Linked DNA regions of Homo sapiens: region 1 is linked to region 2. Evidence: promoter capture Hi-C in 16 types of primary human blood cells and fetal thymus (Javierre and others, 2016). All regions are on one chromosome and are shown on one strand. The core of a region is centred on a gene start or on the middle of the fragment in contact, and the rest is flanking DNA. Distances in the headings are between cores, read along the strand shown. Region 1 holds the start of PCDHGA7 (protocadherin gamma subfamily A, 7). Region 2 overlaps PCDHA1 (protocadherin alpha 1).

Region 1 (7,080 bases), core at 3,296-5,795, 490 kb before region 2:
ATCTTTCTTTCATTGTTCCTAACATTTTCTCCACTTTTCTAAGTACCTCCAAGTTGATTTATTTCAACTTTTTCCGGAGAGTATCAGTAATACCAAAATTGCCTTTTAGAAGGTGCAATTTATACTTATCTTCAAATACACCCCCTTCCCAATAGTTTCAGTGATTTCATTACAGGAATATTATGTGATTCTCATTTCGATGATCACAGGCAGTAGCCTACTCCTCTCCTCATTACACAATTATTTTACTGGTTATGAAATACAACATTCATCTTCAAAGTTATCAGGGGGATAATACATAGCCTCAAAACACAAAGTCACTGAGATCTGCTGCACTGAAGCACTGCTTCCTACCTCTGCACTTATTTTACATTCCTTGGTGACCTCTGAATTGAAGGAAACAATCCCTGGAAAGTTTGATTGCAATAGCTCACTGAGTTTAGTGATTATGTCTCTCCATTGCTTAAAAACAATTTTATGCATCTAATAAATTTTGGTCAGGAGATTTTCTTTTACAAAATACCTTATAACCGTAGTTCTGCCATAGGATCTTCCCTCAGTAACATTGTTGGTGTCAGCAACATTGTCTTCTACCCCAAGTGATTGTACATCTGAAATGTGAACACTGCAGAACTTGTAAAATGTATCCAGCCTGGGTGACAGAGCGAGACTCCATGTCAAAAAAAAAAAATGTATCCCCCACACTATTGTACAGAGTCTATCATGTGCAAAATACTACCAAATACAACACTAGTCTAAAAAGAGTCTTTTTTTGAAGAGACAGAGTCTTGTTATATTATCTAGGTGGGCCTCCAATTCTTGGGTTCAAGCTGTCCTCTTGCCTCAGCCTCCCATGCAGGTGGGCTACAGCTTGCAACACCATACCTGGCTAAAAGTGTGTTTTTAATTAATACTCAAAGGTCTCTGGAATCAAGATTACCTTGTCATCCACCCCTTCTGGATGACAATCACTTGATATACTGAGCTTTACTAAAATGTTATACAAAAGAATATGGAAGTAGTTAATCCCAGATTGGGTTATTTCCAACTGAATTTTTCAGTAGACCTAATAAATAAAATCAACTACTGGTCTAGGATCTGTGTACATAAGATGGTCTAAGGTTTGAGTACGTGAGACAGTTGAAACAAAGCCAGTATCCCCAATCTCCCACTTTGATAGCCCACAGACACACTTCATCTGGCTGTACCACTAAAACAACATACTGGAATTCTCTGTTAAAACATGTAATTGCCTATGTCACAAATGCCAATTACAACACTTAAAATGACATTTTATTTGACATATTTTATTGGTTTTGTCCGATGGCCTTTAGTGTGGCATTAGACTTGATGTCTGTCTTTGATATAGATCTTAGTGAAGTGTGATACACACACATTTCATTCTTTAGGCATAAATCCAACCTTCTACTACCACCCCATTAATAAATGATTATACTGTAAATAGGTCAAGAAGCAATCAAGATTTTTTAGGACCACCAAGCTGAGGTACATGGAGGCAGAATCAGCCACAGAAAAAAATCTTCACATGGAAGAAATCTTTCAGAACCTTTTACATATTTGAATGCTAAAGAGAATCCTGAGAAGACAGCTGAGGTGTGTTTTATTCCTGCTAACCTTGTGCAATATGAAAGACTCGATTCATTCCAATGTATAAAATATATGAGTTAAGAAAGTAGGTTGGAACATAGATTGGAAAGTAGGTGGAAATTATAAAATGTGATAGTCCACATATTCATAATCTTGTCCATAGGCTTTCACTAAAGAAATACTATATCCTATGTGTTCTATATTAAAGTGTCACCACTGAAGGAAACTGGTAAACTCATTTTTACCTCTATAAAGTTTTTTAAATCCCTATTTTCAAAACATTTGTTTTGCAAAATAATAGAGAAATATCATGCAAATAAATTCCTCATGGAAATAAAGGAAGGGCTGGGCTCACCTGAATACTTGGCAGGTTTTCTTTACATTCCTGAAAATCTACGGATGTTAGCAAAGAATCATTTTTCTCACAGCTCTCCTGGCTGATGAGCATGTCTACATAGTTGGGCTGGGGGAAGATCAGGTGACTCTTCCGAGAGTCCGCGGTGAGGGAGACCTCATGGGAATAGGTCTGCAGGAAAGCCTGCACCCCGTCCATGCCCACAAAGTGCGAGGTGGGCACGTTCGCCAAGCCACCTTCTGAAGCCTGCAGCAGGCGTGACTTGTGCCAGCGCCGCAGCCTGAGCGCCAGCAGTACGAGGACGAAGGCTAGGAAGACGCAGGAGACTGTGGCCACCGCCACCACCAGGTACAACGTGAGGTCATAGTTGTAAGGACCGTCGGAGGGCTCAAGGCTGCCCAGGTCGGCCAAGACTTCGGGGATGCTGTCAGCCACAGCCACGGTGAGTGTGACGGTGGCTGACAGAGGAGGCTGACCGTGGTCCTGGACGGCCACCACGAGGCTCTGCTTGAGGGCATCTCTGTCCAGCAGGGCCCGAGCCGTGCGCACCTCGCCCGTGTACAGCCCAACCGCAAAGAGTCCTGGCTCGCTGGCCTTAAGCAGGAGGTATGACAGCCAGGCGTTCTGGCCTGAATCTTTGTCCACCGCCACCACCTTGGTCACCAGGTAGCCGGGCTCTGCGGAGCGGGGTGCCAGCTCCATGCCAGTAGAACCATCTGTGGGGAGGGCCGGGTACAGGATCTCGGGCGGGTTGTCATTCTGGTCCAGCACGAACAGGCTCAGTGACATGTTGCTGCTGAGAGGCGGGTCCCCGCTGTCATGTGCAGTCACTCTTAGTTGTAGTTCTCTCAACTGCTCATAATCAAAGGATTGCAGCGCGTACAGGACTCCAGTGTCAGAGTTTATGGAGACATAGGAGGACACTGGAGCCCCCTGGATGGTGTCTTCGGCCAAGGAATAAGTGATCTGGGCATTATCCTCACTGTCGTGGTCCTGTGCAGTCACTAAGAAAATGGAGGCCCCTCTGGGGTTGTTCTCAGCGATGTAGACTGAGTAGGATGAGTGGGGGAAGGTGGGTGGGTTATCGTTGGTGTCTGCCACCTGCATGAATATGTGAGTTTCCCTGGACAAGGGAGGAGTTCCACCATCTGTGGCTTTCAGTGTGATGTTATACAAAGAGAGTGTTTCCCGGTCCAAGTTTTTGGTTGTGACCAATCTATAATAATTATCTATTGATTTTTCTAATTTAAAAGGTAGGTTTTCTGGAATGGTGCAGGTCACCTCACCATTCTTTCCAGAATCTCTGTCTTGTAGGTAGAAAAGAGCAATGACTGTCCCAAGAGGTGTGTCTTCAGGGATTGAGCTACTTAAAGACGTCATAGTCACTTCTGGAGCATTATCATTTACATCTAAAACTGTGATCAGTACTTTTGCCTTTGTCAGACTACCAGGACCATCTTGAGCCTGAACCTCCATTTCATAGAAGGCAGTTTCTTCATAATCTAATCCTTCTAAAGTTGATATTTCTCCTGTAAGCGAGTTCAGATGAAACATCTTTGGAAGTTTAGGAGTTATTTTCCGAAAAGAATATGTCACTTCCCCATTGACTCCCTCGTCCAGGTCGATAGCATGTACCGTGAGCAGTCTTGTACCCACTGGCACATTCTCGGGGACAGTTACTTGGTACTGAGGCAGAGAGAAGACAGGCGTGTGGTCATTCACATCCACCACTGTCACCTGGATGTGGGCGGTGCTGGATCGGGGCGGGTCGCCGCCATCAGAGGCTGTGAGGACCAGGTGGTGAACCCGCTCTTCCTCCCGGTCCAGCACCCGCTCCAGCACCAGTTCCGGGTACTTAGTTTCATCGTCTCCACTTTGCACAGCCAGGGAGAAGTGGCGATTGGGGCTGAGCTGGTAACTCTGGAGGGAGTTCGTGCCCACATCTGGATCCCCAGCCTCGCTTAACGGAAACCGAACCCCAGGAGCTGTATTCTCCATTATTTTTACATTTATTTCTTCCGTCAAGAATCTTGGAACGTTGTCATTAATATCTATTATTTCCACGTCTATAGGGTAAAGATTCATTTTATCTTCCATCAGGATGTTAAAGTTTACCAGACACCGCGCACTCTGAGCGCAGATCTCTTCCCGGTCTATCCTGCCCGCAGTGACCAAGCTGCCGCTGCGCTGGTTCAGGGCGAAAAGCTGCGTCCTACCTCTGGAGATGATGCGGACTCCGCGCTCCGCCAGCTCCCGGGGCTCCAGCCCCAGGTCCTTGGCGATGTCTCCCACAAAGGACCCTTTGTCCGTCTCCTCCGACACGGAGTAGAGAATACGTCCTGCCCAGGCTTCCCAGGGGGTCCCCAGGAGGATGGAGAGCAGGAAGAATCCTCTGTAGTCCCCGCCCCTCGGCTGAGCCGCCATAGTCGTCCTGCTTCTCTTGCTTAGGCGCCGATCTCGGGAAGTGCTTCAGAATGCGGGTGTATCCGGGTGGACCCCTCTGTCTTAGGAAGGGGAGCTCAGAATCCAGCAGGATAGAGGCTTGAGTTTAGTGCAGCCTGGAAGAGGGCTTATCGCAATCTGTCGTTTCTCTGTGCTGTAAAACTCGGTGGTTTCTGTGGGATCTCTCGCACCATTTTTCCCTGGTTGGTGAACAGCGGCGCTGTGAGTCCTTACTAAGTTACTGCACCACATTGATGCACACAATACACTGATTTCATAGAAAATTGTTTCATCTTTCAAAATTTCCCTGTTAGATTTCTTTGCTCTAGATATCCCTGATAATTAAAAATCCATTTTAAGACACTGAATTAATGCAACAGTGTTCATGGACCGGTGTTTGATAATCTTAGATAATTTTTAAAAAACTGCTTTGCCTTGCAACTTTCAAGTGACTCTTTTGGGCACTGACTCACACGTTATTGCACATGGGAAAATCAGTTATTGAAGGCAAAAAGGTAAATTTTATTTAAATACATATGAAAGATTTTACTTAGAAAATATTTACATCAGTGTATATAAATTTTAATTAATTCAGTATTAATTGAACACATATGTTCTAGACACCATGATGCAAGATTCAGAAAGTCAAAATTGTTGTAAAATATATAGACCTATTTTAATAAATTTTTGATTGTATAGAACCTTAGAGACGGTCTAACACCTTCATTTTAACCGTTTAAAAAATGAGAGGGGGGGCCAGGTGCTGTTGCTCACGCCTGTAATCCCACACTTTGTGAGGCCGAGGCGGGCGGATCACCTGAGGTCGGGAGCTTGAGACCAGCCTGACCAACATGGAGAAACCCCGTCTCTACTAAAAATACAAAATTATCCGGGCGTGGTGGCGCGCGCCTGTAATCCCAGCTACTCAGGAGGCTGAGGCAGGAAAATCGCTTGAACCCGGGAGGTGGAGGTTGTGGTGAGCCGAGATCACACCATTGCACTCCAGCCTGGACAACAAGAGCAAAACTCTGCCAAAAAAAAAAAAAAAAAAAAAAGAAGAAGAAAGAAAGAAAGAAAGAAAGAGGGAATTGCCTTGCCTTGTTCCTGATTATTGATTATATAGTAGTAGAACAATGTCGGAATCCAAATATTCTCACTCCCAGTCTTGTGAGAAAAAAAGAAAGAAATCGTTGTTTGTCTTGGCTGCAGCAATCAGCTATAGAAGCAACCCATTTTCTACAGAAGGCAGAAATCTGCAGAGATCCTACTGGGCTGTGAATTCATAAGAAACTGGATAATGGATTGGCTGATTCTTTTCATTATGCAATTCAATTCAAGTCTTCATCCTAGTATGCAATTCAAATCTTCATCCTACTCTATTCTAGTGTAATTGAGAAAACAGGGATCTCTAGACAGCATTTGAGCAAAATGCAGGACTGTCCTGACAGGATCCTTAGAGGTACTCGTCTCTCCACTGATGTTGATAGAGTAAAACTAAATTATTGATGGATCCGAGGCTACCCTCTGCTAGCAGAAAGAAAAGAAAGCTCCTTTCACATAGTTGCAGAATAAAAGAGAATGACCTGCTCTGGAATAAAGACCTGGCAAGAAACAGTCTTGGTTTGTAAATTCTTCTAGGTCCTGGAGAGTAGTTGGTGGAACCAGGAGGAGAATCCAGAACTAACACTAAGAAAGCTTAACTTCGTTTTGTGGGAGGCTCCTAAGTAACCTATTTCTGCTTTCTGGTGGCATTGCTCCAGAATACAGGGAACACTTTGAAGGACATTCTGTTTTGATCTATCAAAATAATCCATAGTTATCTTTGCATTCACAAAGTAGATAAATTTTGTTTAAAGGAACTAATAGAGGTATTATAGATGAATTCTGTAAACTGGAGTTAAATTCTATTTGTTTAATAGTACTTTTGAACTTCTTGTTGAGGCAAGCAAAGTGTATGATTATTAAACAATGTAAGCACTTGTAGATATTTTCAAACAAACTTTCATGTTTGGAGGTTATAGCTCTCAATGTCTTGATCCATTTTTACCTGATGCCTCAAAATTCATAGTTTCATCTCACATTTGTTTCTTATTCTACTGTTTTAAAAAAGTCTCAATTAATTTATAGTGTCTTGGTACCTTCTTTGGAGAAAAGGAAATAAGAGCTAGTTAAATTAAATTATAGACTACTCCGAACACAAAGCATACATACCCTATGGAGTAAATGGCTTCATTGTCTCTAGCATTCACATTTTCTAAGTTATCGAACATCATAAAATTAAATATTAAAGATCTTTACTAGACCGCCAAGATATGTTTAATAAAATCTAACATAAGCTCATTGTATCAAATTGAAATCATTTCATAGTTTAAAGAGTGTATATTATTGTTGACTGAGATATTGGGAAGAATCCTGACCATTTGTTTGGTTGCATTAAAAAGAATTCTATGTAAAGTCTATTTGGCTTCCTGGGCATCGAATTGATTATCTTCTCTCTTTTCTTTTTTGGGACTTTTTTTTCTAAAAAACAAACAACAAAACAGTTCTTTGAAGTTCCATTTAGATTTTCATTCTCAAGCAAAGATATAGGTATCTTCCAATGTTTCTCCTCTGAGATTTTACTCCTTCCCCTTTGACAATTGCCACCTCAACAGAAGCCTGATCAGAAATGAATG
Region 2 (6,959 bases), core at 3,364-5,863:
CACTTATAAGTGGGAGCTAAAAAAGAATGTGAAAAGACAACACCCTCAATGAGAAAATCTTTGCAAATTATATATCTAATAAAGTAATTGCATCTAGAATATATAAAGAACTCTTACAACTCAACAATTGAAAAACGAATAAACCAATTAAAAATTGGGCAAAAGTTCTGAATAGGTATTTCTCCGAAGAGGATAAAGAAATGACCAATAAGCACATGAAAAGAGTCTCAGGAGGAAGCAAAAGAAGGTTATGGGGCTTTTGATGGTGTTGAGAATTGAAGAACTCCAAAAAGTGCCAATAAGTACTCACTGGAAAGCATAGTAAAACAATTTGAGAACAATAGTCATGGGTGGAAGGGGGGAAATCGAAGGTCCTAATTCAATTATCCCTGAGTAAGAAAAAAAAGAAAGCTTTGAAAAGAGAGATGAGAAAACTCAGTAAAATATTAGAAATAAAAGCAAATTCAAAACTTAGCAGAAGGGACTACAAATAGATTGGATTGTGCTAAACCTGTCTTAGCCCTATGAACTTGTCAACTAACAAATGTCTTCTTGTAGCAAAAACCCCTATACTGAGGAGGAACTGATAGGAATTGAGTCCATATGAAGCAGAATGGTGTGGGTGGGGGACAATTAAACAAAGGAAAAAGGTCCAAGTAAAAAGGGTAAAGGATGTCACAAAGTAAGACATTAAAAAATTATATTTTTATCATTTCATGACAATAGCTGAATAGAAATCTATAGAGCAACAAAGATAGGAAAATTATCCTGGTCTGTTTCTTCTAAAATTATGGGGGAGCACTTTTCATATAAAAATGAGCATAAGAAAAGGATTATGGGCAAATCTGATATAAAATTATTTTTAAAGGAGAGGACAAATAATTACACTAAAGGAAATAAATACACACAAGAAAAAAAATTCCACAAATTGCTACGTAATATTTGAAAACAACTTAAACATTTTTAGAAAATAATGAAAAGCTATGCAAGAATACACAAATCAGAATTAGAGAGACTCAGTAATGATATGATTGGAGAAGAAAAGCTTTGAAAAGAGAGATGAGAAAACTCAGTAAAATATTAAAAAAAAGGAAAATAATTTTTTCAGAAGTAAACACTAAACCAGAAGGCACATAACAGCATATAAACACTATGGATAATGCCTAAAGAAAACTATAAGATGAAAACAAGAATAAAAAGTAAAATATTTTTTAAAAAAGAGCTAGGTAGGATTTAGGAGTGTTAGCTACAAAAGAAAAGCAAAGAATATCTAATACAAATATAATTGGAGCCATTGAAGAAGAAATCTGAAGTAATAAAACAGAAGAAATACTAAAATCTATAATTTAAGAAAACTTTCCAGGAAAATAAACTTCAAAAATACTTGTAAATAAGCTACCACTTGTAAAGAAAAGAAAATTACATTGTCATTCAACATCTTTAAAATGAGAATATAATAGCATAGAAAAAATATATAACTATGGAAAGAAAGTCAAAATCAGGGATAATTACATAGAAGGGAATTATTTCAAGTTATTTGAAACTTCTCATCTGCAACACCAGGAGCTAGAAGATACTGGAATAAAATAAATGTATTTAAAAATCAATTCAACAGAGGACTTACATTACCAGTATGCAGAACTGGTAATTTGAACCAACCATACAATTGGAGATATTTTAAAATTATAAAAGTATCTAATGACTAATAAAGTCATGCAGAATTAACAGGTAGAGATTCTGAAAAAGACCACAAATTCAGAAGGTAAAGTAACTTTCTGGCCACTTTGGATCTGGGTTGTTTCTATACAAGAGGTAGGGCATCAGGATGGCTGAGTAGTCTACGGTACCAGACTCAAGACAAGGAGGGAATTCTAAAAACGGTAAAAGAAAAGTGACAAGTCACCTATAAGAAAATTCCCATCAGACTAACAGCAGATTTCTCAGCAGAAGCTTTACAGGCTAGGATAGAATGAGATGATATATCCAAAGTGCTGAAATTTTTTAAAACTATCAGCCAAAAATACTATACCAAGCAGAGCTATACTTCAGAAATGAAGGAGAAATAAAGTATTTCCCAAACAAGCAAAAACTGAGGAAGTACACTACAACTAGATAAGTCCTACAAGAAATACTTAAAGGAGTTCTACAACTGCTTTTTTTTTCTTTTTTGTGAAGAACAGGGTCTTGCTATGTTGCCCAGGCTGGTCTTGAACTCCTGGCTTCAAGCGATCTTCCTGCCTCTGCCTCCCTAAGTGCTGGGATTACAGGCATGAGCCACTGTCCCATAAATGCTGTTGGTGGGCATGTAAATTAGCACTGCCACTAAGGAAAACAGTATGGGAGTCCCTCAAAAAACTACAAATAGAACTACCATATCATCCAGCAATTCCACTATTGGGCATTTATCCAAAGAAAAGGAAACCAGTATGTCAAAGTGATACCTGCACCTCCCATACTTACTGCAGCACTATTCACAATAGCTACTATGTGGAATCAACCTCAATATCCATCAACAGATGAGTGGATAAAGAAAATGTGGTGTATATGCACAACGGAATATTATCCAGCCATAAAAAAGAATGAAATCCTGTTATTCATGGCAGTATGGCTGAGCCTGGAGGGCATATGTTAAGTGAAATAAGTCAGGCACAGAAAAATAAATACATGTTCTCACTTATACGGCAGCTACAAAATTTTATTGAGCTCATGGAAGTAGTATTGTGCTTATCAGAGGCTGGGAAGGGTGAAGGAAAAGGAGGATGGGGAAAGGTTGGTTAATGGATACGAAATTATAGCTACACAGGAGGAATGGGTTGTGGTGTTTTGCAGCACTGTAGCACTGTAGGATAAATATGGTTAACTATAATTTCTTACATATTTTCAAGAAGCTAGAAGAGTGGATTTTAAATGTTCACCATGCAAAAATGGTAAATGTTTGAGATTATGAATATGCTAATTACCCTGATTTTATTATTATACATTGTATATATGTATCAAAATGTCACTCTGTATCCTATAAATATGTACAATTATTATGTACCAACTGGAAATAAAAGGAAAAAAATAGGTGAATGAATACTGAGATATACTTTTGACAGTCTCCAAGGACTAGAGAAACAAAAGTCAGAATCCTGAGTCTACCAGTCATGGTGGAACTTCTTAAACAATCTCTCATGTTTGGCTAGGAAACTGAATAACCGTACTTAAAGAATACATGTAAATTTTAGATAATGAGGTTTTATCTAGAATACCTGAAGCTTGAAATAGATTAAGATTACCCATGATTGCTAGTGCCCCAAGATGCCTGGCAAAAGTCAATTAAAATCCATTCTGGAGAAAGAAAATGTTATAAGCCCCAAATTATTTCCAGGAAGAAGTGTTTAATACAACTTTCAGCACAAAATCAAAGATAACCAGGTTTATGTGGAGACAAAACACCATAAAGATACAATTTTAAAACACACCACAGGAATAGACCCATGAGGATCCCAGTTACTGGACATATCAGAAATAGACGCTAAAACCATGAGCTTATTGTGTTCCAGATATAAATGCCAAGCTTGAAAGTTTCGAGAGGAAACTAGAAATTATACAAAGTAACAATAAATTTGAAAAAGAATAAATAAAAGTATCTTAGACCATTTGTGCTGCTATAACAGAATGCCACAGACTGAGTAATTTATGAGAACGGAAATTTACTTCTCACAATTCTGGAGCCTAGGGGAAGTCCAAGATCAAGGCACCAGCATCTGGTGAAGATCTTCTTGCTGCATCGTCACATGACAGAGCCAAAAGCATAAGAGAGGGACAGGCTCCTTCCATCAAGTCCTTTTACAGTGCCGTTAATTTATTCATGAGGGCAGATCCCTCATAATCTAAACATTTCCTGAAATTCCCCACCTCCCAACACTGTTGTATAAGGGATTGAATTTTCAACACATGAATTTGGGGGTACAAATTCAGACAACAGCAAGAAGAGAGAATTATTAAACTTTAAGGTGGGTGAACTATCCACAATAAAGCCCAAAGAGCAAAAGGTGTTAAAATAAAAGGTAGAAATAGATGGGATAGAGTAATAAGATTAAAATATGTTTAATTAGAGTACTAAAATAATACTATAGAAATACAATGGAACAGAAGCAACATTGGAGAACATTATAGCTGAGGATATGCTCAAAGTGATGTAAAGGCATTAATTCACAAATTCAAAAATCCTATACAATGGACGTTGGGGACTTGGGGGCAAGAGTGGGGGGTGGCGAGGGATAAAAGATTGCAAATATGGTGCAATGTATACTGCTCAGGTGATGGATGCACCAAAATCTCACAAATCACCACCAAAGAACTTACTCATGTAATCAAATACCACCTGTACCCCCAATAACTTACGGAAAAATTAAAAATTAAAAAAAATCCTACTGAATCCAGAACAGGATGATTATAAAGACACAGCATGGTAAAACTGCAAAATATCAGACACACAGAAAATCTGAAAAGCAGCCAAAGGAAAATAAACAGAATACCTTTAAAGGAATGACATTTAGATTGACAGCTAAATTCTTGACAGCAACAATGGAAACCAGTAGACACTGGAATAATATTTACTATGTGCTGTGGGGGTCACACCTAAGATTATACCCTCAGAAAAAATGCTTTTCAATAATTATGATGAAATAAAGACATTTTCAGAAAAACAAAACCTGAAATCATTCCTCACCAGCATCTTTGGACTAAAGGAAACTCTCAAATTATTCTAACATGGAAAGACAATAATCCCTGATGAAAGGTCAGAGGGGCAAGAAGTAAGGAAGAGAAACAAAACTGGTAAATATGTAAGTACATTTAAAACAATGTTGATTGTATAAAATAATACTAATATCTTATGGGGTTTTAAAATATTTTTAAAGCATGACAGAAATAGTATATAAGTCAAAAGGGATTAAAAAGATTTTAAAAATGTAAGGTCCCTGCATTTCCCAGAAGGAGGAAGGGTTTCAGTTAACTTTTGATTTTGATATATCAAGGATACATGCTTAATTTTCTAGGGTAAGCACTAGCTATTCGGAAAAGGGCTTCCAAATAATACAGAAGGAAATGGAACAATAAAAAGTACTCAGTCATTTCAAAAGAAGATCAACAAAGGAAGGAAATAGAGACATAAAAATGGTGAGACAAAAATAACGCACAAAAAATTGAAATATTTGTGCCTAAAGATATCACTAGGTATTGTAAATATAAACTAAATAAATATTCAAGTTAAAATTTATAGATTATCTAAGAAAGAGTACTTGTTCAGGTTATCCATTGCTATATAGTAAACCATCCCAACTACCTAATATCTTAAAACAACTTAATATTACCTCTCCTGGTTCTGACTCAACTGAGTGGTTCTTGCTTGCAATCAGGTGCAGTAGTGTACTGGTAAATGCTTAACAACTAGGTCTCTGGGAAAAAAGAAAAACAAAAAACTCTGTTTTGTAGCATTTGCCTATTTCTGTGGCAGAAATACTCCTACCATGGCCAATTTCAAGCTACCAAAGTGACATCATTGAATCCAGAGTTGGGAATAAATTTGCATTATCAGTTCTCATAAGCCAGTAAAAGAGCCAGCTCCAACACACTACAGTCACCTGAAGCCTTCTACATTTTTCTGGCACCTAAGCTTGGAAAGCTAAGACAACTGGAGACTGGATAGTAATTTTTCTATCCATTTGGCTTCTCACAAGTCCAGCTTGAGCTTCTTTACAGTATGACAATCTCAAGGTAGTCAGAATTCTTACATGGTGGCAGGCTTCCCCCAAAACAAATATTCTCAGAGACCAAAGCATACTGTAAGACTTCTTATGACCTGACTTCATAAATCCCAGAATGTTACTTCCAATATTAAGACCAGTCAAAGTTCAAGGAAAGAAAAATTAGACTCTGCTACTCAGTGAGACAGTAGCAAAGAACTTGTGGAATATGCCCATAATACTAAAAGGTTTAAAATAAAAGGCTGGGAAGAGGACATCTCCTGCAAACACAAATGAAAAGAAGAGAAATGAATCAGTATAATTAATATAAAAATATTTCAAAGCAAAAACAAAAATCAGAAAGCAGAATTCTGAAGAAAAGTAAATTAGACAGGAAGCAAAAATAATATCAAGAATGGAAAGGGAAATATCACTATAGATTCTGTAGAAAGTATGAGCATATAACTGAAAATTTAGATTAAACAGGAAAATACCTGAAAAAATATTATCTACGTAACTGACTCGAGTAAATTAAACTCTGAATGGTCCTTATACTATTAAAATTGAGTCAGTAATCAGAAATATTCCCACCAATCAAAATCCTGATACAGATAACTTCAACAGTGAGTTCTCCAATCAAATAAGAAGTAATTCAAAGATTATACAAACTTTTACAGGAAACAGAAAATTTTCTGGAAGTTTTCAAAGACTATTCTTCTTTGTTAAGTATTCAAGTTATGCTAGATTCTTATTTATAACTTGAATACTTAACAAAGAAGAAATTAGGAAGAAAAACTAGGACATATCAGTATCACCTGGAATAAAGATGAAAAAATTGTTTTGAAAATTTAACAAAATAAGTAGTATATTAAAAGGATTATAAATTATAATCAAATTACGGTTATCCAAGGAAGTAGAGGTTGGTTTGCCATAAGAAAATCATAAATCATAAATTCAACACATTAACATTGCCAAAGAAAAAATTTATACCTCCCTCAAAAGATGCAGATAAAATATTTGATAACATTAAACCTCAATTCTAATGTTTTAATTTTTATGTTGAGACATGGTCTCACTCTGTCACCAGGCTGCAGTGGAGTGATGTGATCACAGATCACAGATCACTGATCAACCTCCCCAGATCAGGCTATCCCTTCAAAATTAAAAAAAAAAGTGGGTAGAATAATTCCTAGAGCTCACAAAGGGCTGGAAATATTTCACATTCCT

The links. Contacts are between HindIII fragments. The CHiCAGO score rates a contact against its expected background, and 5 or more counts as called.
Region 1: the fragment with the promoter of PCDHGA7 here is called in contact with a fragment that was not itself captured in region 2 in 1 of 17 cell types (M1 macrophages); the score reaches 5.3 in M1 macrophages.

What each region holds. Positions count from the first base shown.
Region 1 is chr5:141,380,207-141,387,286 of GRCh38, reverse strand. PCDHGA7 (protocadherin gamma subfamily A, 7) reads right to left here and starts at 4,545. Exons shown (of 4, transcript NM_018920.4): 1 at 1,964-4,545. The coding sequence starts at 4,387. The region is part of intron 1 of PCDHGA1 (protocadherin gamma subfamily A, 1); the gene reads right to left. The region is part of intron 1 of PCDHGA2 (protocadherin gamma subfamily A, 2); the gene reads right to left. The region is part of intron 1 of PCDHGA3 (protocadherin gamma subfamily A, 3); the gene reads right to left. It also overlaps PCDHGB1, PCDHGA4, PCDHGB2, PCDHGA5, PCDHGB3 and PCDHGA6, and 1 more gene. The HindIII fragment of the contact is 6,225 bases long and covers 1-6,102 here.
Region 2 is chr5:140,888,701-140,895,659 of GRCh38, reverse strand. The region is part of intron 1 of PCDHA1 (protocadherin alpha 1); the gene reads right to left. The region is part of intron 1 of PCDHA2 (protocadherin alpha 2); the gene reads right to left. The region is part of intron 1 of PCDHA3 (protocadherin alpha 3); the gene reads right to left. The region is part of intron 1 of PCDHA4 (protocadherin alpha 4); the gene reads right to left. It also overlaps PCDHA5, PCDHA6, PCDHA7, PCDHA8, PCDHA9 and PCDHA10, and 4 more genes. Among named protein-coding and RNA genes, the nearest start is that of PCDHA13, 10 kb to the right of the region's middle. The HindIII fragment of the contact is 2,103 bases long and covers 3,562-5,664 here.